Linked DNA regions of Homo sapiens: regions 1, 2, 3, 5, 6 and 7 are each linked to region 4. Evidence: promoter capture Hi-C in 16 types of primary human blood cells and fetal thymus (Javierre and others, 2016). All regions are on one chromosome and are shown on one strand. The core of a region is centred on a gene start or on the middle of the fragment in contact, and the rest is flanking DNA. Distances in the headings are between cores, read along the strand shown.

Region 1 (4,146 bases), core at 1,252-3,751, 350 kb after region 4:
TACTTTTAAGTATATGTGTATATATACTTATAAGTATATATAAGTGTATACATATATATGTATATATTAGAAAATCCTTCACAGCAGTTCTGTTTATTCTCCTGTAAAAAAGTATGTATGAGTATATAAGTACATATACTCGTATATATACTTCTATAGACTTATAAGTATAATACTTCTAATTATATAAGTATTTACTATATATACTTATATATTACTTATATATATTACTTACATATTACTTATATATAATATATAACTTATATATTACTTATATATGTTATACTTATATATATTATAATATATATTATATATAATATATAACTTATATATAATATATAATATATAAGTAATATATATTTTATATTACTTATATATTACTCATGTAAGTAATAAAGAAGTAATAGATATATTACTTATATATTATACACTTATACTATATATACTTATATATTTATTATGTATACTTATATATGTATAATAAGTGTATATATACTTATAAGTGTATATATACTTATAATAAGTATATATATAAGCATACATATATGCTTATAAGTTAGAAGGTCAGGTGCTAACCCCACGATTTCATATAGCCATTGAGATCTGCATCTTAGTTCAGTACTTGTTCTACTGCGTAAAGCTATCTCAAGTACTGTTCAAGCATTCTTTCTTTTCAAATGGAACATGACAGACAGAATATGAATAAAGGTAGTTTGAGGAATGCATGTATATTGAGAAATTTGACCAACAGATCTAAAAAGTATCTCAGATAAATTTCAAAGACCTTTGCAAGTAAATATTAACTTGGTATTTTTAGTTTCAAGAACAAACAGAATAGTATTTATTTTTACTGTACACCAATTATAACTTATTAGATGCATACAATTAAAATCTACGAAGACATGTGTTTCGTTTTATTGGGAAGCATAATTCCATGTTGATATAGTATAAGTCATTCCTTTATTGCCTGAAGGTATCTTCACTAATAGGTAAAGATTTGACAATACAAAAGCAGAGTTCGTATTTTTCAAGAATCTATAATGGATAAGCATCTAAGATTACAACAAACGATGTCACAAGATATCTGGAAATATGGTTCCAATAAATTCATTTAAAAATAGATTAGTGGCCAACTTCTGTTTACTCTCGACTGTCACATACTACATAATATTAGTCTTCAAAGTCTGTTGTGTGTTGAGAAGTAAAATTTCATCTGAAAATATCTGCATTTTCTACTTACCTGAGGTATCTTGGGCCTGTTGACTTCTTCTGAGATTTTCTCTCAATAGCCTTATAACTTCCTTTTGATATTCTACAGTGGCTTTTGTAGCACTGATTCTAACAAAAACAATAAAAATATGTAAAAAGCTCAGCAACTGATTTTTTACAGGAGAATAAACAGAACTGCTGTGAAGGATTTTCTAACACATCACATTGACATAATGCCTGTAAGTGGCAGTAGATAAGCCCTCGTGATACCTCTCTGGTGCCATGTGCCTTATGGCATTAATGCCATCAAACTAGAAGCATTCTGCTTGGGTGCAGGGACAGTCCGATTTTCTTATATTGAGAAACCCCAGTTCTTTTAAAGCTTCTGGAGGCCTAATTCATTGTATATTGAACAAAATTATAATTACCTAATTATTTTTTACCATGGGGTCCTAGAAATATTTGAAGGTATAAGGAGCATGAAAGAGAAAGTGCAGCTTTATTTCTGTATGGTCAGGAAAGCAAACCCTGACTGCAGCTCTGGTCTAAGGTGCTACAAAGGTCAAATTCTGATCACTGTTCTCCAGTAGAAAGAGACATTTTATGAGTTGTTAGTTTACGCATTAATCAGTAACGATAAATTATAAGACTTTCTGCCTTTCTTAATGACTATGAATTATCTGTATCTGCTGACCCTATTCTTTACTTTTCTTTTCTTTTTTTTTTTGAGACGAAGTCTTGGTCTTGTCCCCCAGGCTGGAGTGCAATGGCGCTATCTCAGCTCACTGCAACCTCTGCCTCCTGAGCTCAAGCGATTCTCCTGCCTCAGCCTCCTGAGTAGCTGGGATTACAGGCACCTGCCACCACGCCTGGCTAATTTTTGTACTTTTAGTAGAGACGGGGTTTCACCATGTTGGCCAGACTGGTCTCAAATTCCTGACCTCAGGTGATCTGCCTGCCTCAGCCTCCCAAAGTGCTGGGATCACAGGCGTGAGCCACCGTGCCCGGCCCTGCTGACCCTATTCTACAAGTAAAATTGTTTTTATAATTAAGAATCTAATAGATCTATGTTTCACTGAAACCAATAGACTGCTTAGAGAGCATGAAAATTCCAATGCTACTTCCTGGGCAAAATAAGAGATCATTAAATATTTATTCAAGATTTATATAGGAAGAATGAAAAGTGTTAAAAGCCAGGAAGCATCCTAACAAATCCTCTAAATAAACCTTTCCTTATTGATTATGAATGCGAGGACCAGAGAGAATAAACAGTGTAAGGTGATGCATTAGTAAGTGAGAACATATTTCTTTTTTTTTTTTTTTTTGAGATGGAGTCTCACTCTGTCGCCCAGGCTGGAGTGCAGTGGTGCGATCTCGGCTCACTGCAAGCTCCGCCTCCCGGGTTCACACCATTCTCCTGCCTCAGCCTCCCAAGTAGCTGGGACTACAGGCGCCTGCCACCATGCCGGCTAATTTTTTTGGTATTTTTAGTAGAGGCGGGGTTTCACCGTGTTAGCCAGGATGGTCTCTATCTCCTGACCTCGTGATTTGCCCGTGTAGCCCTCCCAAAGTGCTGGGATTGAGAACGTATTTCTACTTCAGTTTCCTTGACTCTCTTTAATGTTCTTTTCATTATGCTATACCACAAAGAATTTAGGCATGCTGTTATGTATAATGCTACCTATAAATAAATCAATAAAAAGAGGATTTGCTCTTGGGCCCTAGGGAACTATAAACTAAAAGGAAATATAATCTTCACACAGAAACACAGTAAGGCCAACAAATGAAATTAAGAGAACCAACAGAAGCCTTAGTAAAACTGCTAAATACACACACACACACACACACACACACTCTTAATGTTCACTTTCAGGCATACAAAAGCCACTTAAAATTGTTTATATTCTGTATGACTAAGAAGTGTTCAAAGACACAGCGTGTTAATTGATCAGAATTGTGTTTAGTTTTAAAAACTTTGCATATGTAATGAGACCAGTATATTTAAAATCTATGGATGTGTACATTTTTAAAAAAAGAGCTGTAACAATATTTTCATAAATTATATTTTAAAAAGTTAACTAATGAAAAGTATATGTAGTTTAGGAAGAAAATTTAAGCTATTAAAATCACATTAAATTAAGACAAATACGTACTCCTTTTCAAATTCTTTGGCATTTTTCATTTTCTCTAGGTCTATTTTCACAAGCTTCATTTTGAGATCTTCAATTTCTTCTTTATATGGCTTAGCTCCTAAAGCAACTTTGTCCTAAATTTTTTTTAGAGAAAATAAAAATAATTATTAGAGGCGCTTCAGTTTCTCCAGTTGTAAAGAATGGTTAGCTGTCTTTGCTCTAATAAGGACATTTTAAAATAGCAAACAATTCCAAATATATGAAAAAGCATCAATTTTAACTGAATAACTAGATATTGATATGAAGTCTATTTGAAGCTAATATGCAATTAGAAACATGATTTTTTATTTGGAGCTATCATAATATGCAATTAGAAACATGATTTTTATTTCTTAAAATAAATATTTTTTTTCTAATTGAAAATACCTACAAAATGAAAAAAGTTGGAAATAATGAAAAGGGTGGAAAAAGGTAAATCAGAAAATGAAACAAAAAGATGTTGGAGCAGTGATGTAAACATCAAACTAGAACTAAATTTAAGCCACAAAACAAAGCATTACTAAGTATATTTTGTACTGAAACAGTTCCATCCAGTGATTCAAAACACTATATTTTACAGCAGCAGGTTTCCAGAAAAATGGAATGGAAAATACTGGGAGTTCCTACATACCCAGTGTCCCCTATTCCTTTTTCCCCATATTAACATCATGCATTAGTATGCTGCATTTGTTATAAGTGATGAATATTGATACATTATTATTAAAATCTATAATTTCCATGACAGTTTATTTGTATTGTACATTCT
Region 2 (3,896 bases), core at 463-2,962, 300 kb after region 4:
TTTTGTTTGTTTTTTTTTTTTTTTTAGTTTTTTTGCAATAGTGAGCTCTCCCTTGGAACTTTGTCTAGTTTGTTTTTTGCAATAGTGAGCTCTCCCTTGGAACTTTGTCTAAAACTAAACTTTTTAGTTTGTCTTTTGCAACAGTGAGCTCTCCCTTGGAACTTTGTCTAACTTTGTTGAAGCCTTAGGTTGAATGAGTTTTCCCAGATGGGAATGAATTTACTTCTACCATGTACTTAAAAGCTTCCCATCCAAGACCATCTGAAAATGTTTTTTGAAAATAGATACATTTTCAAATTGAATTTTTTCTGTGAAATTGGAGACAAATCAGGATGAAGTTAAACATTTTTATTGGCGACTCCACACCTGCCCCAGCCAGCAACTACAGTTGAGACAGGTTTAGTCAGAGGCCCCATCTGCAGAACAGATTTACCTCAAATTTGGCATCACACTGGGTTTCAACTTTATATGGGTGAAGGAGAATGCTTTTTCCTGTTAGACTTCTCCCAACCTGGGCAGGCTCTAGCTTAGCCTCCTGTGCTCACAGCGCTCTCAAAATCAATCTCAAATTCCCTGAGGTGGATCTAGAACTAGAAATACCATTTGACCCAGCCATCCCATTACTGGTATATACCCAAAAGATTATAAAACATGCTGCTATAAAGACACATGCACACGTACGTTTATTGAGGCACTATTCACAATAGCAAAGACTTGGAACCAAGCCAAATGTCCAACAATGATAGACTGGATTAAGAAAATGTGGCACATACACACCATGGAATACTATGCAGTCATAAAAAATGATGAGTTCATGTCCTTTGTAGGGACGTGGATGAAGCTGGAAACCATCATTCTCAGCAAACTATTGCAAGGACAAAAAACCAAACACCGCATATTCTCACTCATAGGTGGGAATTGAACAATGAGAACACATGGACACAGGAAGGGGAATATCACACACCGGGGCCTGTTGTGGGGTGGGGGTAGGAGGGAGGGATAGCAATAGGAGATATACCTAATGTTAAATGACGAGTTAATGGGTGCTGCACACCAACATGGCACATGTATACATATGTATCAAACCTGGACGTCGTGCACATGTACCCTAAAACTTAAAGTATAATAATAATTAAAAAAAAAGTTCCCTGAGGTTTGGTAGAAACCTCCAGGGTGGGGCCACCTTGAGTGCTTACTGACCTCTGCTACTTACACTTTGGTTTTGGTGTCTGATGATTCCCTGTTTTCTTGACAGATCATTTCAAAAGACTTAAAACATTTTTTCAGATGATGTCCTTGGTTTGTGACAAGATTGTTCATTGAGTCTCATCTACCATACTGCTAGAGACTGAATTCAATGTCCCTTTTTCTAAACCCTCACAGAATTGTTCCAGATTTTCTAGGCTTATGATACTACTGCAGTGGAATACCTAAGGGACTTCCAGTATTTTCCAATTAGCTACAAGGGTTGAAATTTCTATGCGATATCAGAGGTAGAATGGGAAAGCAGGATTTGCCAGCTATTATACTAAATTATACTTTATCATAGCATAAACCCAAGCTAATATTAAATTCAGCAAGGTAGAATTAAGTGTTTTCTCTTTTCGGCTGGGCGCAGTGGCTCACGCCTGTAATCCCAGCGCTTTGGGAGACGCCGAGGCAGGCGGATCATGAGGTCAGAAGTTCGAGACCAGCCTGACCAACATGGTGAAACCCCGTCTCTACTAAATACAAAAATTAGCCGGGCATGGTGGCACGTGCCTGTAATCCCAGCTATTCAGGAGGCTGAGGAAGGAGAATTGCTTGAACCCAGGAGGTGGAGCTTGCAGTGAGCCGAGATCGAGCCATTGCACTCCAGCCTGGGCAACAGAGTGAGACTCCATCTCAAAAAAAAAAAAAGAGAGATTTTTCTACTTCAAGACTATTAAAAAAATCTCTCTTTCCCTGTGCTTTACTTGAAACACAGTTGTAAATACATAGCAAATGGTATGTCTATAAGGTTTCTCTAAATCATGTTTAAATCAGTTAACAATTTACTTCTCATTTACGATTATGGAAAACCACAAATTTTCACATGTAAGATTTACTTTTTTTATTTTTATTTTTTGAGACAGTTTCACTCTTGTCACCCAGGCTGCAGTGCAATGGCACGATCTCAACCTCCGCCTCCCAGGTTCAAGTGATTCTCCTGTCTCAGCCTCCTAAGTAGCTGCAATTACAGGCACCCACCACCATGCATGGCTAATTTTTTGTATTTTTAGTGGAGATGAGGTTTCACTATGTTAGCCAGGCTGGTCTTGAACTCCTGACCTCGTCATCCACCTGCCTTGGCCTCCTAAAGTGCTGGGATTACAGGTTTGAGCCACTGTGCCCAGCCTACTTTTTAAGAAGAATACTGATATATACTGCATAGGCACAGGAAAAAATATAGGACAAAAGTCGTCTTGTAAACCTCTGGAACAGAAGAACAGAAAAATAAGCGATGAGATGTTTATCTACCATGAACCTCATTTTTCAGGCTGCTTTATGAACGATTATACATTTTTAAAAAATGTGTCCCAAAATTACATTATTCATTTTTACTCTTTCCTTATGTCAGTCCATATCTGTTTCATTGTAAACGTTTTAACTATAAGTAGGCCATATTTTGAATAATAAAAGTTTAAAAAAATAATGAAAAGAACAGAAAAGGTATTCAATTATCTGTGATCTTATCAGCTAGTGTATATTTTTGGATTCTGGTTTTCTGTACATGTTCTAAGTTTGAGATTTTCTTCCATGCTTAGTTAAGTAAACTGACTTGGTTTCATTAAAAACACATCTAGAGCCTAAAGTATAGTATATTATGCTTATCTTTCATTGTCCCAGATGATAATGGTAAACATGTCTTTCAGAGCCCACAAAGTATAACTATGGAATTGAGTCTCATTTTTCAGTAAACATATGTGGGCATCCATATATTTACTTCAATGATGCTATTATTCTTGAACACAATTTTTGAAATTGCCTTTAAATTTTCTTTAAAAGGCAAATTTAGTAAGACATAAAATTATGAAACTATTAGAAAAAAAACATAAATAAAAAGCTCCATGACACTGGTCTGAGCAATAACTTTTTGGATATGACTCCAAAAATATAGGCAACAAAAGCAAGAACAGACAAACCAGATTACACCAAACTAAAAAGCTTTTGCACAGTAAACAATCCACGGAGTGAAGAGACAACCTACAGAATGGGAGAGAGCAGTTGCAAACTATGTACCTGGCAAGGAGTTAATGTCCAGAATATAAAAGGAACTCAAAAAACTCAATAGCAGGAAAACAAATAATCCAATTTAAAATGGGCAAAGACCTGAATTTTTCAAAAGAAGACATACAAATGGCCAAACAGGTATAGGAAAAAATGTTCAACATTTCACCTCATGCCTGTCAGGATGGCTATTATCAAAAAGACAAAAGATAACAAGGGGTTGGCAAGGATGTAGAGAAAAGGTAACTCTGTGCACTATTGGTGGGAATGTAAATTAATACCACTATTATGGAAAATGGTATGGAGAGTCCTCAAAAAAGTAAAAATGGTACTACCATATGATCCTGCAATCCCATTACTGGGTATGTATCCAAAGGAAATGAAATCGGTATGTTGAAGAGATTTCTGCACTCCCATGTTTATTGCAGTACTATTCACAATAGCCAAGATATGGAATCAACCCTAAGTGTCCAACAATGAATGACTGGATGAAGAAAATATGTGTATATACACAATGATATGCTTTTCAGCCATAAAAAAGAATGAAATCCTGTCATTTGCAACAACATGGATGAACCTGGAGGACATTATGCTAAGTGAAGTAAGCCAGGCACAGAGAGACAAATACTGCATGTTCTCACTCATAT
Region 3 (4,146 bases), core at 1,160-3,659, 330 kb after region 4:
TGCAGCTTTTCTCTTAATTTTCTCTTCTTTGAGGTATAATTGAGAAATAAAAATTGCATATATTCAAGATGTCCTTCCCCTATCCTTCCCCTGCCAGAGACTGGGTTGCTGGTACCTATACAGTAATCAGAATTTTGTCTGAGTGAGGGGTGGAGAAGAGCAAGTGTTCTGGAATAAGAGACTGTTTCTATTTGTGAGCTTCCCCTTTATGTCATTTCCATTATTTATTAGAAATGACTCTGTTAGTCAAGGGTATCCAGTCAAATACATGTATTTCTGGACTAAACTGCAAGGAGAAGAAATGAGAGGGTCAGAAGAAGGGATGACACCCTTGAAGGCTAGACATGAGAGATCTGGCATGGCGGGCACCTGAGAGATACACACTGCACTAGTTGCTGAGAAACTCCAAACAGTGTCTAACAAAAGCAGCAGTCATCATTATAAATATATACACATATTATTTATAATGTGCATAATATATATTATAACATATAGTAATATAATTTATAATATATACAATGTATTAATATGTATACATATAATATATAATAATATATGAATAATACATATAATATATAGTAATATAATTTATAATATATACAATGTATTAATATGTATATGTATAATATATAATAATATATGTATAATACATATAATATATAATTATCTATAATGTGTATTATATTTTATAATTTATAATATATTATAAATAATATGTATATGGTTTATTTTGGGGGAATATAGAAATAAAAGATTCATAAAGAAAGGGAAGACTTGAAATTTTGTTTCAGAAACATTTCCTTATCTTTGTGCTTCCCCAGTGCAGCAGCTTTACTTTGACTTGTTTGAATTATAATTCAACATATTCCAATTCAATTAACTAATTCAAGGAACTAATTGCTGTTTGATTATGTAACCTGTTCTATTTTGCTGTAAGGGTTACCTTTCATATAGGTTCTCTGTTCTGATTTCTTTGGGTAAACTGCAATTAAAATCCTTTGGTGTTGGAGTTTGGTTCAGTGGGGTGAAGAAGTGGTGGTACACACCTAATAATCTGGGTACTCTCTTAGGGTTTCTCATGATGATGTGTGATTTTAGAGCTAAGCTGTCTCCAGCCACATGTGGCTACTGAGCACCTGAAATGCAGCTAGTCTGAAATGAAATGTGCTGCAAGTGTAAAATACACATGAATTTTAAAGATTTAGTATGAAAATATTGAGACGTTGGTCAAAGGGTACACTCTTGCAGTTATAAGACTTAATATACAGTACAGTGACTATAGTTATTAATAATGTATTGTATACTTGAAATTTGCTAAGAGGGTAGATCCTAGGTATTCTTAGCACACACATACATACACACAGAGGTAACTAAATGAGGTAATGGATATGTTAATTAGCTTGACTGTGATAATCATTTCACAAGGTATTTTACAACATATATGAAAACATCATGTTGAACATCTTGAATATATGCAATTTTTATTTCTCAATTATACCTCAAAGAAGAGAAAATTAAGAGAAAAGCTGCAAAGAGGAGAAAATTAATGTTTGAAGTTTGTAAGAAACTTCTAATAATTTAAATAAAAAATTTAGTAAGAAAAAATTAAAATATTAATTTTTTAACTTGAGTGCATGTTGAGATTATATTTTAGATATATTGGATAAAAGAAAATATATTATTAAATTAATTTTCACTTGATTCTTTTTACTTTTTTAATGTGGATACTAGAAAATTTAAAATTACACAGGCAGCTCACAACATGTTACTATTGGACAGGGCTATCCTAGAGGAGGAGGGCACAGAAGTGAAAAGCTGTCATGAAAAGTTAACCTAACAACTAGTAAATTTTCACATGTAAGTTTGTAATTAGGAACTGAATCCCTCAAATGTGTTAGCTAAATAAAGGATTTTAAGTATTCGTCCTCAAATTTTTCTATGCATGTAAGTCACAGATTTTTGTCTATAGGTTCACAAAATATAGATTTCATATCAGAGAGAGAATCTAAAAAGCACGGCAGTGGAGCTCAGTAGCTAGGGAATTTTCTTTCAACATGTGAGCGCCATGCTTTATAATACCTTGCAGACACTGAATCCCAAATTCAAGCTGCTGAGTTGCTTACCCGGGTACTTTTCCAGTTCCTGAAGTTTGGACTCATTAATGTCTGTGGCTATGACTTTGGCACCTTCTCTTGCAAAAGCCTAGTAGACACAAAGTACAAATAAATCCTTTGTTTACTTGAATAAACTGTGCTCATGAATGGAACATCATGTGGTCTTTTTCTCCTTTATCTTATTTTCATTGTTCTTTTCCCTATAAGATAGCTAGAATTTTAAACTATCTAGTCTTACCCCTTCTCCATTGTTATTATTTTTATCATTAATTAGAACAATGTGACATACATTGTGCTTGTCATCTGACTTAGTCCCTTTAAGTAATATCAAACAAAATAACGTTCTTAAAAAAATGACAGCTGTTTTCAATACTCTCAAAATACTGCTCTTCTGTAATGAGACTATATATCATTTCTGAGTTTGAGTTACTAAACTCCAAATAATAAGAGAAAAATTGGTTGTTTCAACACTTTTCCTACTAAGAGTATGCTAGTGCTTTCATAAATGTCAAACCATACCCTGCCATTATACTTAAGGTACTGTTATACTTAAGGTGCCGATATTAGCTTAAGTGGGGTACATAATGTAACAGAAATTGATATAAATCAGGAGAACAAGGTAACCTGTCTTATAACTCTGGAGTCATATATCTAAACTGACACAATTTCAGAAAGCTGTGTAACCCTGTTTGCCCTCTGTAGCGAATATATCATGATGCAGAGAAACTGAAGTAGAGAAGTTTCTCAGAGTCAATGGTTATCAGTGATGTCATGTACTAAATATGAGGTATTCATTCCTTCATCTGCCTGGGGTCAGGAGTAGGGACCTATTTATTTATTTGTTTATTTTTATAACTTAAGACAACAGAAGCACAAAAGTAAAAAAATAAAAAAGCAGAGCAGAAGTAAACAACCATGGCATCAGTCCACATAATTCAATATGTCAAGAGTTAGTAGGCAAACAACAAAGATAGTAACTTATAACTTACTAAGGCAGCTGCTTGGCCAATCCCCTGAGCAGCGGCCGTCAGGATGATGACTTTCCCATCAAGTCGACCCATAATGGAACCTGTGGTTTAATCTAAAGACATGTGTGTTTAATGGGTTATACTGTAGAACATGATCTTGAGCAGGCAGTAACATCTAGAATGAATAGTTCAGTGTGCTCTTTTAAGAATAATTTAGTGAGCTCCTTCAGGAACTTGAAGACAGCACCTCTGTGCAAGTAGTCCCATCATCTGAATTCTCCTAGAATGCTTACTCTGCATACCTAGCTTTGTATATCAAACACATTTACCATAACCCACTGAAGTAATGACTGGTGACAGACATTGGCCATTTTTTTTTTTTTTTTTTTTTTTTATGAGATGGAGTTTCACTCTTGTCACCCAGGCTGGAGTGTAATGGAGTGATCTCGGCTCACTGCAACCTCCGCCTTTTAGGTTCAAGCAATTCTCCTGCCGCAGCCTCCTGAGTAGCTGGGATTACAGGTGCCTGCCACCACGCCCAGCCAATTTCTGTATTTTTTGTAGAGACGGGCTTTCACCATGTTGGCCAGACTGGTCTCAAACTCCTGACCTCAGGCAATCCACCTGCCTCAGCCTTCCAAAGTGCTGAGATTACAGGCCTGAGCCACTGTGCCCAGCCCAGATATTGCACTTTAACCTACCTTATCCTTCCTTCAGTACCTGGAGAGGACAGCCTCTGGTGCTGAGTTTCCTCACTACCACCATCACTCTCTCCATGACCCCTGCACACATTGCTATGACATTATTTGTGTCCTTACTACTCAGGGCTGCTTCTTGATTTCTCTTCCATAAACTTTTGTTGAGGTTTGCACTATCAATTGCTTATGATTTTTTTTCTCTTGAAAAGATTTCATAGTTGGTCTCAGATATTCATCGAAAAAAAAAAGGATGGAAAAATCAAATCACATCCAATACTCCCATTTTACAGATGAGGAAACTGCTGAAACATGCCCAATGTCATAGAGCCAGTCAATGGGAAAGCCAGAACTAAACTTAGACTTCCA
Region 4 (4,127 bases), core at 469-2,968:
ATGCTGGTCTTGAACTCCTGGACTCAAGGGATCCTCCTACCTTGGCCTCCCAAAGCTCTCACGTACCAGCACCCATTGGCTTAATTATTTCAGTAAAATCAGGCAAGGAGGAACCCTACAAAATAAACACAGGCATTCTCAAAGCAGATATAAGTGAAAACTCAGAGTATACTGTGGTCAGCTGTGTTCTCTATCACAAGTAGTTTGTCAACTTAAAATAAAGTACTAAAGTTTGGGAATGATCTACTCTAAAAATACATCGGACAATGGTCAATGTCATTTACAACATTCACCTCCTTTCTGATACACATCTCAGGAAAAAAAAAAAAAAAACTACTAAGTACCAGGTCAGAAATTTGGCACAACCCTAGATGACCACCTTGTCATGCAAATAAACTTAGAATGGTGCTCCTGAAAGTCAGCCACAGTGCTTCAAAAACACATGATTTTTTAAAACACCAAACTAAGCATACCACATAGTATAGAGACCAGGCTATGGAGTTGAGACCACCTGGGTTAGAATTCCATTTCTTTCCATTTAGTTGCTGTCACCTTCCTAATTTCTCTGTGTTCCATAATTCCATATTATCCATAAAATTCAGATATGAACACTTACTATACAGAGTTGTTATGAGGATTGGACAATGTATGCATCCCACAAGTAGATCAATTACAAGTACATTTTGCCCCAAGTAAAGACAACACGTGGGAACGCTGTGCAAGAGGGAACAGCAAAAGCAGTTGGAGGATGGAAGTCAGTTTGCAAACCTATGCGCACAGGCAGCCAAACACGAAAACGTTCCCCACAAGTAGTCTGTAAATTGGAGACTCCATTGGGATACACACACACACACACACACACGCCCTGAGAGGAAATAGCACCTTTCTTCATCACCAAGTTAGCCTTAAAAATTATTTACCCGTTGTTAGCCACACTAGCACTGACAAACCCAACTTTACTCTTGTAGGTCATTCTCCACAACGTCTGTGCTGCGTCAATCCCAAATCTGACTCCCTGACGCTTAACAGCGAAAATAAAAAACCGAGACATTACTCAATAGAGTTAACCCTTACTTAACAAAACGCTGTTGTCCCCTGTGGCGTGCAGACAGTAGAGACAGTAATTCCCGACCTTATGCTTGTCAGTGACGGCATGCCCTTTGTATACACGCTTCAGTAGAGAACGACTGCAGTAAGTAAACTGCTAGTAGCAACACTGTTCCCCTATCTAAACTTCCCCTTTCCAGAGTTACTGATGTCCCAACATGGGTCGGTCGCTCAGTCTCCGTCAAGCCCGTACCCCATAGCTTGGGCATTTCCCCCCGCAGATCACAAGATGCAAAGGGGAAGTTACTACCAAACCGACGAGAATGGCCCAGAGCTGGGGGCTGCCAGGCGGTTCCTGGGCCCCTCTCAGCACCAGAAGAAGGCGGGCGCAGGCTCGCCGCGGGTCGGCCGCACGCCATACCTGGATCAGGCCCTGCTGGAACAAGGCGCTGTGCACGCAGCCAGGGACCGCCCCGGGCAGCTCCAGCGAGCCGTTCCCATTGCAGATGCTCCAGTTGCCACGCAAGCTGTAACTGAGCTCCGCGGCGGTGGTGCCTGCACCGCACAGCGCGAGCAGCAGGAGCAGGTGGAGGCGCATCTTGAGATCCCGCGCCACCGAGATGTGGAGAGATCGAAAGGCAGCGCTGCAAGGGACCGGCGGTGAAGCCACTCACCCCCTCGGAAGTAGCCGAGGCTTTAGGTCCCCGCCCCGGCCCCGCCCCTAGGTCAGCTGAGCGCTCTCCGGGCGCAGCCGCGGGCGGGAGGGGAACGAGGAGGCTGCGCCTGCACCCGCTGAAAGCCGGGCGTCGCGGGTGCGGGAGCTGCAGCCCCCGAGAATAGCTACAGGCTGGGGGGCATTGCGGTCTGAGCCTTCCCTCGGCGCTTCTTCCCGCCGCCTCAGTACATACAACTGGAGGCAAGAATCTTGCACGGTAATTGGGACAGAAAGATCCCTGGGCGCGCAGTGGCACAAAGCCTCGGGAGATCAGAGACCGACTGTACGTGGAGACCATAGCTGGAGAGTCCCCTCACTCCTTCAGAGAACCCAAACTGGGAGACAACCCACCACTTCCCTTCCGCCAAATTTACACAGACCCTCGTCTACCTGGTAGCGTAACACTCACCCCGCTGCAGCTCAACTCGCGGGTCTCAGAGCCTACCCCGCCCTTCAAAGAGTAAACAAGTACTAGCAGTATCTCCATCAGAAGGTTGTTCTGAGGGCTAACCAAGAAAATGCGACTATAGCATGCAGCATGGAGCCTGGCCCAGAGAAGGCATTCACGTTAGCTATTGTTACTAGCGGCCTGCGTCCTTATGTTTCATAAAGCCCCACGGAGGTTTCTGAGGTTCTGGAACCTGCACTAGGCGCGCAGCTGAGTTTAAAATCCTCTGCACTCACTAGCTGTGGGACCTGGGCAAGCCGCAAAATCTCCATCTCCGTTTCTTGAAGTTTTCAAGGTGTTATAAGTATAAAATGAGTAAACATATGTGATCGTCCCTAACAATGCCAGAGTACCCAAGAAATACCACTGACTTATTTCGGGTCTTGTAGTCAAATGGTCTACCTGAGTCCCATTTTTGCAATAGGATGTAACAGTAATCCTAGAAGTTAAGACGGAATTTTACATTGCATAAAATAGACTGCCTTTCTCCTGTGTTGACGCTATCTGCCGTATATTTATGCTTCGGAAGAAGTCCTTGAAAAGAAATTTTCTCTCATCAAATCTGAGCTTTGTTTCGCCTTACAATGGCCTTGGAATTGCCTGATTCTGCAGACACCGGGCAATATCTTACTTTGCAAAGTCAGCATTATTTACAAGCCCTGAATATCTTGGCTTAAAGGACAGTATGGATTATCCAACCCAAGCCGCTGGCTTTACAGATGAGGGAACTGAGTTCAAAGAGATCGGGGCCAGGCGCGGTGGCTCACGTCTGTAATCCCAGCACTTCTGGGAGGCCGAGGCGGGTGGATCACTTGAGGTCAGGAGTTCGAGGCCAGCCTGGCCAACATGGTGAAACCCTGTCTCTATTAAAAATACAAAAATTAGCTGGGCGCGTGGTGGCACGTGCCTGTAGTCGCAGGTGCTCGGGAAACTGAGGCAGGAGAACCGCTTGAACCCAGGAAGCAGAGGTTGCAGTAAGCCGAGATGGCACTACTGCACTCCAGCCTGGGCTATAGAGAAAGACTCTAAAAAAAAAAAAAAAAAAAAGATCAGGTGACTTGCCTGTCACATAGTGGCAGACAGGATTAGAACCCTCCTCTTCAAGGTCCTACTGTCAGAGCCCAATGATGCTATAGGGGAAACGCTCTCACTGCTTCAAAGCCTTCCTCACTCACTCCAGAAGCATTTTTACCTTTGATAGAAACAAAGCTCTCAATTCAAATTATATGCCATAATTCACGGCATTAAATGGCTAGCCATGGTCTGTGCAACACTGATAACACAAGGTTTATGGCAACAAGAGCGGCAAAGGAATTTTTTCATAATTCCCAGAGATTTCATTAAGCCAAATCAGAGGAAAATTCATCCTTGATGATACATATGGATATATTCTGTTTATTAAGAAATATAATTTTTAGAAAAACAATAATAGAAGATTCTCATTCCTCCTTTCATTCCAGGATGCAAGCATAACATCATTTAGGTTACTTCACTTTGACAACAGAGAACATCAAAGAATAATCAAAGCCCTAATAAGTACTCTTCCTAAAATTGCAATTGGCACAGATGACATGATGTTTTCATTTTGTTATAGGATAATTTTTGTCCATGATTTTCTGGTAAATAAACCTTATTTAGAGATAACATAAAACTTCTCAACTTATGTAATTTAAAGTCATGATACCAAATGCAATGTTTAAAATAGTTATGGGTATCTTTAACTTACACTGTATAAACAGATTTCATTTTGATCATTTCATTTGATGCTTCCCAAAACTTGAATTATTTAGAACAAGTGATCGTTCCCTGGTTTAAAAAGATAAATAATGCCCACGGTGATTAAATGATGTGTAGGGTCAGTATCCTGTCACAACAGACCAATGGAAGTAGTTAGGCCCTTTGCTATATGACAACATT
Region 5 (3,884 bases), core at 670-3,169, 410 kb after region 4:
GGCAAGGATGTGGACAAAAGAGAATCCTTTTATACTGTTGGTAGGAATATATAGAAAACAGTATGACGGTTCCTCAACAAAGCAAAAATAGAACTACCATAAGATCCAGCAGTCCTACTACTGGGCATGTACCCAAAGGAACTTAAATGAGTATGTTCAAGAAATATCTGCATTCCCATATTTACTGCAGCACTTTCCACAACAGCCAAGATATGGAACCAACCTAAGAGTCTACCAACAGAAGAATGGATAAAGAAAATTTGGTATAAAGTCACAATGGAATATTCTTCAGCTATTTAAAAAAAAAAAAAGAAATCCTACCATTTGCAACAATATGGATGAACCCAAAGGACATTATAAACCAGGAACAGAAAGACAAATACTGCATGATCTCACTCACATGCAGAATCTTAAAAAGCTGATCTCTTAGAAGTACAAAGTATAATGGTGGTTATTGGAGGCTGGGGTGTTTTTCAGGGAGAAGAAAATGGGGAAATCTTGGTCAGATGACATAATGACAGTTAGATAGCAGGAATAAATTTCAACAGCTCTATTGTACAGCAAGGTGACTATAGTTAATGACAATTTATTGTATTCTTAAAAAACATAAAATTTGTGGATACTATGTGCTATCACCACAAAAACAATAACTATGTGAGGTAGTACATTTGTTAGCTAGATTTAACCATTCCACAATGTATATATACTTCAAAACATCATACATCATGTTGTATACAATAAACACATAAAATGTTATCTGTACATTTAAAAAAAATTAAAAAAGCTTACATTATAGAAAAAAGAGAATACTTCTTTTAAAAGTATGCTTTTAGTTTAGTTTTACATTTCTGTCTCTCTTACCTCTTGATCTTTTTTAGTTTTTCTTTCTAGAGCCTCAAATTCATCCAAATCATTCTTTTCTTTTAATTTCAATTCCATTTCTTCTTTTTCTGTTCGTAGTTGTTCATAGTCTAATACCAGATTATCATAGTCAGCACGAAGTGAGTTCAACTCACTTTCTATATTCTCCTATTATAAACAAGAACAGATTTTCCAATCAGAAAATTCAAATATTTTTTGTTTCCTTAATAAAATTTGAATTATTTAAATAACTACTTTAACTTTGATTTGATATCTTTCTAAAGTTCTACATTTTGGCAAACTAGCTAACTTAGAATAGATTATTTTGAAAGAAGGAGAATTTTAAAAATATATCAATAAAGTGTATGTTTGCCTGTGCCTGACAGGGAATTTTGACCATAAGTCCTCAAGCTCCTCAGTAATAAAACTGATAATTGAATTCCCCAATCTAACTAACTCTTATTTTATGTCTCAGATGGTTCTGAATTCAAGAATGGAAACAGAGATATTATTTATTGACTTCTAAAGCTAATGACAACTGTGTTTTACTATAAAGAGGCCTATTTCTATTTTCTATATTATTATAAGAGAAGAGATAAACCATGAGTTAAAAAAATACTTTTTTACACCAGAGATTGTAAAAAAAACCCAAGAAACTTCTAATGTATGTATTAGGAACAAAAAAACACTTTATCAATAATACTTTATAGGAATTAACTAACAATAATAAGTAGTAATGCAATTATATTCTAAAATTCAAATGAAAATGTCTATTACTTTATACAACTATACATCTTTAAACACGAGCAATCTACAAAGTAAACACGGAATCTAAACTTACTGATGTATTCACCAAAATTACCTCTCCCTGATATATTATTCTATACATTATAAATGCCTGAGAATTGACACTTTTAAAATCAGTCTTGTTACCCTAATGAAGTTTACCAAGGCAAAACAGAAACTTTACAAACATTGTGAATACTAAGATCTGCTAGTAAAGAGCTAGAGGCAAAGGTTTACCTACTAGCACATGTCTGCCTTATGAAATTTTTAGCCTTCCTCTAGGTGCCTGATGGTTATAGAGTAGAAATGTAAAGAGAAAAGCCTTCATTAGAGCCAAAATCATTACTGAAATTAAATGAGAACAAGTAACAAAACCTAATAACAAAAGAATTTTAAAAAGAGTAAAAGCATTATATGCTGTAAAATACATTAAGTTACCTGATTTAGTAGCTTTGTTGCTGGATTCCATTCTATCTCACTTAATGTATCAAGAGTGTTACTGAAAACATCAGACTCTGAACAGACAGCTATAATTAGAGAAAAAAAAAATTTGTCCATGAACATGTTTACCAAATTTCCTAAGTCAAATTAAAGATTACTAAAAAAATTCTTATCAGAGATACTAAGAACTTCAAATTAACTACTATGTGCTCAGAGTATGAATACCAAAAGTACATTAATAGATATGGTCATTTATGTTATTGTATGAATTAAGATGATCACTGGTTGGAATTAGTGACACAATACAGGATCCTTAATGAAATATAGGTTAAAAGGACAAATTCTGAATTTGAGATTTGATCATTATAAGTAGATTTAAAATTCCCCCCCAACAGACTGTACTATTGAAGAAATAATTTTGAAACAGATTCCTATGTCAATGCCACTCTTTTAAGATTAGCAAAGGCAGATGCCATATAACTAACAATTTAATTGAATAATAATTAGAAAATAAAAACACCTGTCTCATGTGTGTTTCAACTAGTGCATCATTCTTAGGAGATTCAGAATAAAGAACTTATGATTACTTTCTATTTATTTATTTATTTATATTTGTTTGAGACAGAGTTTCACTCTTGTCACCCAGGCTGGAGTGCAACGGGTCTTGGCTCACTGCAAGCTCCGCCTCCCAGGTTCAAGCGATTCTCCTGCCTCAGCCTCCCAAGTAGCCGGGATTACAGGCGCCTGCAACCACGCACAGCTAGTTTTTTTGTATTTTTAGAATTACTTATTTTAAATCATAGTCTCCATTGTAATCACATATGAAATACACAGTATTTAAACATGTTTATCACATTAACTGAGCTATAAACATAGTTTCTCTTTATAAGGATGCTTTTATAATTAAACATAGTTCCACTTGAAAAAAGCACTCACATTCATCAATTTCTCGTAATAAATTTATAGAAAGCTTATGTGTTTTTGTTGTTATATTTGTTGGTATATTAAATTGATCTGCATAGTTTGAGTTCTTCATTTTGTTAATTTTGCCAAGGCACCAAGTAACTCTTCGTTTTCTTTTAGCCTAAAGAAGAAGAAATCAAAATTATGTCATATAGATCTGTATTCAAACATAATAAAACAAGGGAACTAGTTTCTATTTTTGAAAACCATTGACTTGGTAGAATTCTTATTAAGCCTAGTTTAAAATTTTATTAGTCTAAGGATATTGCTTAAAAAAAAAATCAAACTCTTGACTCTTTACTTCACTCTAACTACCATTTTCTTTTTTTCCTACTTTGTCCTCCTCATCATTTATCCACTCCTTCCTCAACACTTCAGGGACCCATCTCCTGGTTCTTACCTTACCCAGCTGCTGTCCTTACCACTCACTCTGCTTTGCTAGTTTCTCTTCCTGTGCCTGCCTCTTAAGTGTGTTTCTCCAGGTTTCATAGCCACCATTCTTCTCTTGACTCTTTACTGGGTGCAAGTATCATCTCATCTTATTTGACTCTCTCGGCAACCCTAGGGTTGTAATCACATCTGAAATACACAACCCTAAGGTTGTTGAGAGAATCAAATAAGATGAGATGATACTTGTATCGAGTATCAACCTTACTACATCTTTTTAACAGATGAGTTGGGTGCCCAACAAGTTTGGAGAAGTTGCATAAGGTTGTATAGCCAATTGGTGGCTGAGCCCATTGTCTATTACTTCAGAGCCTATCCATGCAACCATTCCGTCACATTGCCTCTTAAGATTACTTGTTGTCCACAGAATATACTGCATACTGTCA
Region 6 (3,607 bases), core at 500-2,999, 330 kb before region 4:
TGGATTTCTGAGATTTTTCTCGGGGTAATTCTGCTTTGAAAATCTTCCAGGCTAAAATTGCCAAAGCCACGGTCTACAGTGTAGACCTTTGGAACTTTGTTGATTGATCTGCCCCTATCCTGGAGCAGACCCAGAATTGTATTCTGAGAAAAATCTATTAACTGTCTATAGTGCTCCTAGGCCTTCTCCATGCAGAGGTAGGCCAATGTCTATTCAAGACAAAGTCTAGCTTAGGCACCTTAATTTTCATAAGGGGACATTAACCTTTTTCTCTTTGCTCAATTGATCTCTAAAATACATACTTTTTGAAGTATATTAGCTTTATAATACATGTGCTTCAATCATAACACCAAATAATTGCTCTAAGGCATTTTTCAGATAATAAAATACCTGACAGTCACTACCCAGCTTTTATCAAAAGACGTAAGAAATAATATTCATAGAGAATCCATAATTAATTCATAATTCAAGGAGATAAAGTCTACCCAGCCCAACAAATAGTTTAGATTTTTATCCCTGGATCAATCCAGGCATGCGATGTGGCTGAAGTATAAGTTACGGGAAGGGAGAGGCTGGAGAAGGTTGTAAAGAGACAGCCAGGCTTGGGATTATATTTCAAAGGCCTTATAGCCCATTTATTCAGTCACCATGAAATGCTGTGTCATCAAAGGATTTCAGATAGGTAGGACGCTGTTACATAAGACCAGGTAAAAGGTGATTAGTATCTTAGCAGAAACAGTTATAATTTGAATTTAAATTCAATAGGACTGAAAATTGGTTGAATGTAGGAGACAAAGGAAAACAGTCAAGATGACTCCCGTAGCATGGGCCCTGAATGGAGAATACAGAAGAAACAGGTTGGGGCAAGAAGTTAATAAGCTCAGTGTTAAAAATGCTGAGTTTGATACCCCATAGAGTATCCCCAGAAATGACTTACTGAGTTATTCATGAATCTGAAGCTTGGAGGATATGGGCTGGTGATACAGGTTTGAGAATCATCAGCAAATAAAAGACAATTAAAACTATAACAGCTACCTACCTGCTATGTCTCCTAGGCCAAGTCACCTCTCTATGCCTCCATTTTCTGATTTGTAAAGTGAAGATTATCATACCTAATTGAGGGTTACTTAAGAAAATTACTATACTTTTGCTTAGTATGCTCTTGATATATGTCAGTTGTTTAAAAAACTAAATTAATTGCCAAGATTGCCTTGCAAGACCACATAGAACAATGGTTATTACACTTTTGGAGAGAAATTAATGCTTTTGAGAATAGCTGTAAACTATGGACTTTCTTATTAGAAAATTACACATAATCAAAGACCCAAATTTTTGCACAGAATTTCAGGAGGCCTGTGGATCACTAAAGAACCTGGGTTTAAAATTTTTTGATGTACAAGGGGAAGAGGGAAAATCTGAGAATCAAACAGGAAAAAAAAAATTATGAAATGAGCAGATTAGGAGAAGACCAAGAAGAGATTATCAGAAAGCGGCAAACATCAAACAGTTTCAAGAAGAGGCTGTGACCAATTTTCCCAAATTTGGCAAGTAGGGCCAATAAGATGAGTTAAAATGATCATTGGCAACATTCACGAATTGTATTAGTCTAGTGATGGGAGAGAAAATTAGAGATCAGTCAGTTAAGGAGTGAAAAGGGAGTGGAAAAGCAGTGGCAACTCATGGACAAAAAGGAAGAAAAAAGATGGAATGAAAGACAAAAGAGAATTTGTGGTCAAGAAAGGGCTGACTTTCTGTTTGCTGTGTTTGTTTTGTTTTGTGGTCATGAGAATTTATTTTTTGTTGTTTTGGGGTATTTCGTTTGTTCATTTTTTAAGGATGAGAAAGATTTGGGGTGTATGGACTCAGGATTGGAGCCAACAGAAGGGCTAAGGTGGAAGATAAGAACAGAGTGGGAATGACTGATGAAGCAACATTCCAGGAATGGAGATGGGGAGGAAAGAAATGGAATCAAGGGCTCCAGGAGAGGGCTTGGCTTTGTGCTAGAAGGACACATCATCCTCCAAATATGTGGAAAGGAGTTAAGAAAGTGTCTATATATTAGTAAGTGCTGGGCAGGGTGGACAATTGATGGATGACTGTAACTTTCTCAAGTAAGAAACAAGGTGGTTTTTGGGAGCCTGAGGCAGGAGAATCGCTTGAACCCGGAAGGCGGAGGTTGCAGTTAGCCAAGATCGCGTCACTGCACTGCAGCCTGGCGACACAGCGAGACTCCATCTCAAAAAAAAAAAAAAAAAAGAAAAAAAAGCAGATTAACAAGGTGGTTTACTGAGAACATTGGCAGTTAAATGTTGAGGAAATGATGAAGATTTGGAATAGAAGCCAAAGAGGATGATAAAGAAAGCTAAGCAAAACAAGTAAACTTGTATTACTCTGGATTAAGCTCTTGGAACTCATTTCTCATAAGTTTTTAAAATCTTGATAACCACTGATGAGAGAATACACCAAATAAGTATTTTGGCAATTAGTCTTCCTATTTCACTAGCAATTGTGTTTAGATAAAAATCATTATAATTACATCTTAAGCTTCTTGTAATACATTAGACTTACAAAACTGCAAACACTATACTAGATATTATGTATGTATATATTATATTATATTATATAGATCATATACATTATGTGATACTAAATGCCAAAATTTTACTTGATGTTTTGAAGTGCTTAGTGTTGTTCAATGCTTACTTTAGCCAGCTGTTATGTTTTCAGACAGTGATTTGCTTTAGTCTTCTCTTCCTTGCAGAATCATAAGGAACCTTAGCTTATGAGAGCAGTTTCTTCAAGAATCTGCTTATTAGAGTAAATAGAATGAATTTCATTTCGTACAGTTACTACTACAACATTTGATGATACCAAAAGCAAAGTGAAACCTGAAGCATGCTCACATAATAAATTACAAAATTTTCCATATGAAGCATTCTTTATTTTCTGAACCCAAAGCTCTGTGTCCCTTTGTAATGAATCAGCATCTCAGGCAAATGTTCTTGTGAGGAGGCAAATTTTTCCCACTGGATTTAGCACTTAAAACAGAAGTTGTCCCCACCACCACCACACTTTCTAAATACAAAGAGCCCTGTTATAAGATAGTCTCATCTGAGTTGTTTTTCTTTTTTCTTTTAGATTATGTGGGAAATGTGTTGCATATTTGCATTTAGTATTTGTGCAAATGTTTTAAACCTTTTTCTCCGTGTTGAAGCTGGTTTCGGTTATAGTTATCCGAATAAGGGGGGGAAAGAGGTGAAAGGACAATATAGTTTAAAGTATTTAAAGCCCTAAAACTTCACAAACCAGGAATTAAATATAAAGGTATTCGAGTTTTTTCTGACTTATGAAAATTTAAAGAGCAGTACCGGCCGGGCGCGGTGGCTCACTCCTGTAATCCCAACGCTTTGGGAGGCCGAGGCGGGCGGATCACGAGGTCAGGAGATGGAGACCATCCTGGCTAACACGGTGAAACCCCGTCTCTACTAAAACTACAAAAAAATTAGCCGGGCGTGGTAGCGGGCGCCTGTAGTCCTAGCTACTCCGGACGCTGAGGGAGGCTGAGGCGGGAGAATGGCGTGAACCCGGGAGGCGGAGCTTGCAGTGA
Region 7 (3,669 bases), core at 406-2,905, 370 kb before region 4:
GGCTGGTTGCATGCTTCCTATTGTTGTTCTTCATCATTTATCATGGGTGTGGAGTCATGTGAAATGTGCAAATGCTAACTCAATGTAGACAGCGAATTAGTCTTCCACAGTGACCATTTGATATGCTTATTTCCTTGAAATTCTTATACCTGTTCCTATGACACAGAACTATGAGCATATGTTCACAGACCAGATTCTCCTAGTAATACCTTTAGAGTATGGTTCACTGAGAAATCAATGACATGATAATGGAGTTCTGTCAGAGGAGGCAGGTGATGTTACTCACCAGAAATCCCAAATAGGTACTCACTGCTCCTCAACAAGTAAAGGCTCAGAACTTCCAGATCCAGTACTGTGGTCCACTGCCTCTTCTACAGATGCTCTTCTCTGCCCCAGGCCCACAGTATCTCAAGGTTACTGTGGCTTAGATAGCATTTACCTTTATATCTGAAAGAGAGTAGAGAATGAGGGGACATTTGTGTTGAGGTCCAGGAATCAGACCCATCTGGGTGTTATGGGTTATTTTATGATTACTGGAAACAAAAAAGATTTCCTTGGCACACAATATTCAGGGGGAATTCCTGATTCCTCCATCCAGCTAAATTCTCTTTCCATCGAACTAAAGCAAGTGGGGACTCCTGGAATAATGCAAGGCTTTGATGGCAAAGTCCCTGAACACGGGGAGGGGAGTCACACACATCCCTCTCTTCCTCTCAATTTCAGGACAAGGAAGGATAAGTCCACATTCTTCCTATCAAACTCTCACTAGAGATTAGAAATAGAGACTTTGAACTGTGCCTTGGGCATCTCCTCAGGCACTGGAGCAGATGTAGCTCTGAGAAGAAAACAGCATGGCCGCATCCTTTTATCCAGCTCCTGCTCTATAAATTGGCAAAGGGAACTCATCTTTTATTCTAGTTCTATATAATTTACTCCAAATTAAGGAGGAATTCTTAATTATAAATGTTAAGCAGAAGTTGCAAATATGTAAGTTTAATGCCTCTGTTTAAGAGAGGCATTAATAAGAGAAGATTGATCTTTCTTCTAAGGGTACTGGTCTTTCAAGAGAAAAGTAATCTTACACAATTGATAGAAGAGGTTAGTGCTATGATAAAATTTAATACATCCATTGTGCACCATTGAAATTATTTGACTTCACTCACTGACTGCTGTTTCTGCTAAATTGATATCTTAGATCTAAGAGTGATTTGCCATATTCTAGATAGGACTAAGCGGCCTGGTGCAAAATAACCCTGAAGTGTTCACGACTGACCCCTCAGCCCAGACAAAATCATGGAGATGCAGACCACACACCAAATTGAAGCTGAAAACGTGAGATACCTGGGATTATCACAGCCATCCAGAGAGCATCCTTCTCCATACACATAAATTAAGGCATGTGCCCTATGCCCTTTCTCCAATATGATTTTCCTCTAATCCTTGGAACCACTAGAAGAACACTAACTGCCTGACTCTCCTATTCTCCTGACAATACCACAGATGAATTAGGAACCCATTTTCCTAATTCTCTGTGTGTTGGTTTGTTTGGACAGTTACTCTAGTGAAATCGAGTCTTCACAACAAAAGATAGAGGACCCAGACTAAGCAACTTGCCTAAACCTGAGGACTAGAGTCACTTTTATCATGGCTCATTGACATGATACATTGACATATAACGCTCTCCTGAGACAGTTACACTCCCACCTTCTCCCTCTATTCCTATTCCTGGTTATTCCAAACCTCTCCTTCTCCTGTTCTTCACCTTCCAGATGTACTGGTTAGCATCTTCTCCTCATGGCTGAGAAACAATGGCTTACTATCCTGTTTGCCAATCCTTGTTCCACCTTCCTTCAAGTCTTTCTTCCTCATTCAGAGAATGAATATTATTGCTTCTCAGTTTTTTGGCTAAGATTAAGTGAGAATGAATGAGTGAATATTAATTTTATCTTGTGATTAAGTGAGAATGAATGAGTGAATATTAATTTTGTCTTGTACTTATTGTAGTAACTTCTATATAAAATTTTAAAGAGGACAACATTTCTGTCTCAACACCGTCTTGCCTTTCGCAACCTTTCAGACAAACATCTCAGGCTTCCATATTTTCCCTATTGTCTGCTCTAACGTAACATGATTTCCAGGAAAGATAATAAATTGCTCACTGTAAGGTAAAAGGTTGCAAAGTTTATGCCTTTCCAAAGAGATTTGCTTTAACACAGGACCAAAATTTCAATTTCCAATTCTGGAAATGCAAAATCAGTAAGAAATCTTGGAGAAGGACAATTTTCTGGTATCCTTTAAATTATACCCCTACAAACATTGTGTTCAAATAACAACTCACTCATGGTTCATAAAATCATTTTCATGGATTAATATCAGTTTATTTTTTAATAGAATGGAAGGAAACAAATATCAATGTACATCAATTAGAGTAAGCGTAAACTTTTTTTTAGAATTTTCATTTCCGTTTTTTATAAATGTACAACATATATATGTATATGTAATTATAAGCAAAATATATAAATGCATTTCTTGTTATGATCATCATCAAAAAGTTTGAAAGTTACCTGCCCCTCACCCCTAGATCATGTTACCAAATGCTTTTGATTCCTCTTGTGCAACTTCACTAACATGCATCCCTGCTTTTCCATCCCCATCACTGTCCACATAGGTCAGATTATTCATTTCCGTTCTGAAGTTCTACAATAATCACAAAGCCTACATAACTGCTGTCTCTTACATTTTTCTGGGTGTTTACAGTCTCTAAGTCAAATTATTTCCTAATTCAAACTCTGAAATCTGTGCAAGACAAAAATCTGAATTCCTGTGCCTAGCCCTCAACCATCTGGCCCATTTTTACCTTGCCAAACCTTATCTCCTGCAGTTACCCAACTTGCCTCCAGGCATTCTTCTCTTTTCTGCACCAGATCTCTGCTCAAACCATCCTCCTCCCACTCTTTAGCTTGAAATGGCTCCCTTGCCTCATCTTCACGGCATCTTATCAGTCCCTGAATCCTTCAAGTCTCAGCCCCCTTCCCATGTCCTTCATCCCCCAGTGAATGCATTCACTGACCACCCCATACTTCTGAGAAAGCCTTAAATCTTATTATTTTTAACCTTTTCACTGGTGCACATTATTGGTGTACTCATATTTTCTGTTACTTTCTACATTCTTATCTTACCTTTCCAAGGAGATTTTAAGTTCCTTAAAAGAAAATATATCTTAAGTTTTTCTAGCTTGTTGCACTTAGAGCAAAGGTCCTCCATAAAAATGTTTTGATTGATTTTTCCTACTGTACACATGATGCTAAGGTCACTGTGACCCAATAGTTGAAAAATTGGCCATTAATTTTAAAAATACATACTATTGTGCTTATTTTTTATTTTCCATCTTATTTCGTTTTCTAAACTAATAGTTATTATCCTTAAATCACTTCTGAGCAATTAATTTTAACTTTTTAACCAACTGTACTACTACTACTAATAATAATAATACTCATTTTTCTTTCTTCAACCCTCTCTGCAGGAAGTTTTAATGTGAAAAATAATTTAAGTCATTAAAACAATAAATACTCTGAATTGAGGTGTAATGGGTGACCTTTATGATAGTTTCTTCTCACTAGAGAGATTGACTCACAAGTTACATAAATACTTAGAAAAGATATCTATGGG

Evidence for each region. The method cuts DNA at HindIII sites, captures the fragments that hold promoters and counts their contacts. A CHiCAGO score of 5 or more calls a contact.
Region 1: a contact is called between a fragment that was not itself captured here and the fragment with the promoter of MANBA in region 4, in 1 of 17 cell types (monocytes). The highest score is 6.9, in monocytes.
Region 2: a fragment that was not itself captured here is called in contact with the fragment with the promoter of MANBA in region 4 in 2 of 17 cell types (M2 macrophages and neutrophils); the score reaches 7.0 in M2 macrophages.
Region 3: a fragment that was not itself captured here is called in contact with the fragment with the promoter of MANBA in region 4 in 5 of 17 cell types (neutrophils, M0 macrophages, monocytes and 2 more); the score reaches 7.2 in neutrophils.
Region 5: a fragment that was not itself captured here is called in contact with the fragment with the promoter of MANBA in region 4 in 1 of 17 cell types (neutrophils); the score reaches 6.0 in neutrophils.
Region 6: a contact is called between a fragment that was not itself captured here and the fragment with the promoter of MANBA in region 4, in 1 of 17 cell types (total CD4 T cells). The highest score is 6.7, in total CD4 T cells.
Region 7: a fragment that was not itself captured here is called in contact with the fragment with the promoter of MANBA in region 4 in 1 of 17 cell types (total CD4 T cells); the score reaches 5.5 in total CD4 T cells.

The regions. Positions count from the first base shown.
Region 1 is chr4:103,113,215-103,117,360 of GRCh38, forward strand. It overlaps CENPE (centromere protein E), which reads right to left. Exons shown (of 49, transcript NM_001813.3): 45 at 3,363-3,475; 46 at 1,241-1,338. Among named protein-coding and RNA genes, the nearest start is that of BDH2, 15 kb to the left of the region's middle. The HindIII fragment of the contact is 1,824 bases long and covers 1,590-3,413 here.
Region 2 is chr4:103,060,533-103,064,428 of GRCh38, forward strand. All of the region lies in intron 3 of SLC9B2 (solute carrier family 9 member B2), which reads right to left. Among named protein-coding and RNA genes, the nearest start is that of SLC9B2, 14 kb to the right of the region's middle. The HindIII fragment of the contact is 2,943 bases long and covers 242-3,184 here.
Region 3 is chr4:103,093,080-103,097,225 of GRCh38, forward strand. BDH2 (3-hydroxybutyrate dehydrogenase 2) reads right to left here. Exons shown (of 10, transcript NM_020139.4): 2 at 3,104-3,195; 3 at 2,124-2,202. The coding sequence starts at 3,175. Among named protein-coding and RNA genes, the nearest start is that of BDH2, 4.7 kb to the right of the region's middle. The HindIII fragment of the contact is 6,924 bases long and covers 1-4,146 here.
Region 4 is chr4:102,759,250-102,763,376 of GRCh38, forward strand. MANBA (mannosidase beta) reads right to left here and starts at 1,719. Exons shown (of 17, transcript NM_005908.4): 1 at 1,469-1,719. The coding sequence starts at 1,645. RefSeq lists an enhancer at 1,314-1,663 and a silencer at 1,754-1,883. The HindIII fragment of the contact is 23,862 bases long and covers 1-4,127 here.
Region 5 is chr4:103,173,875-103,177,758 of GRCh38, forward strand. It overlaps CENPE (centromere protein E), which reads right to left. Exons shown (of 49, transcript NM_001813.3): 14 at 3,025-3,172; 15 at 2,086-2,174; 16 at 862-1,029. Among named protein-coding and RNA genes, the nearest start is that of CENPE, 23 kb to the right of the region's middle. The HindIII fragment of the contact is 2,274 bases long and covers 783-3,056 here.
Region 6 is chr4:102,427,694-102,431,300 of GRCh38, forward strand. The region is part of intron 2 of NFKB1-AS1 (NFKB1 antisense RNA 1); the gene reads right to left. Among named protein-coding and RNA genes, the nearest start is that of NFKB1, 72 kb to the right of the region's middle. The HindIII fragment of the contact is 1,585 bases long and covers 958-2,542 here.
Region 7 is chr4:102,385,064-102,388,732 of GRCh38, forward strand. No RefSeq gene overlaps it. Among named protein-coding and RNA genes, the nearest start is that of SLC39A8, 41 kb to the left of the region's middle. The HindIII fragment of the contact is 4,429 bases long and covers 1-3,669 here.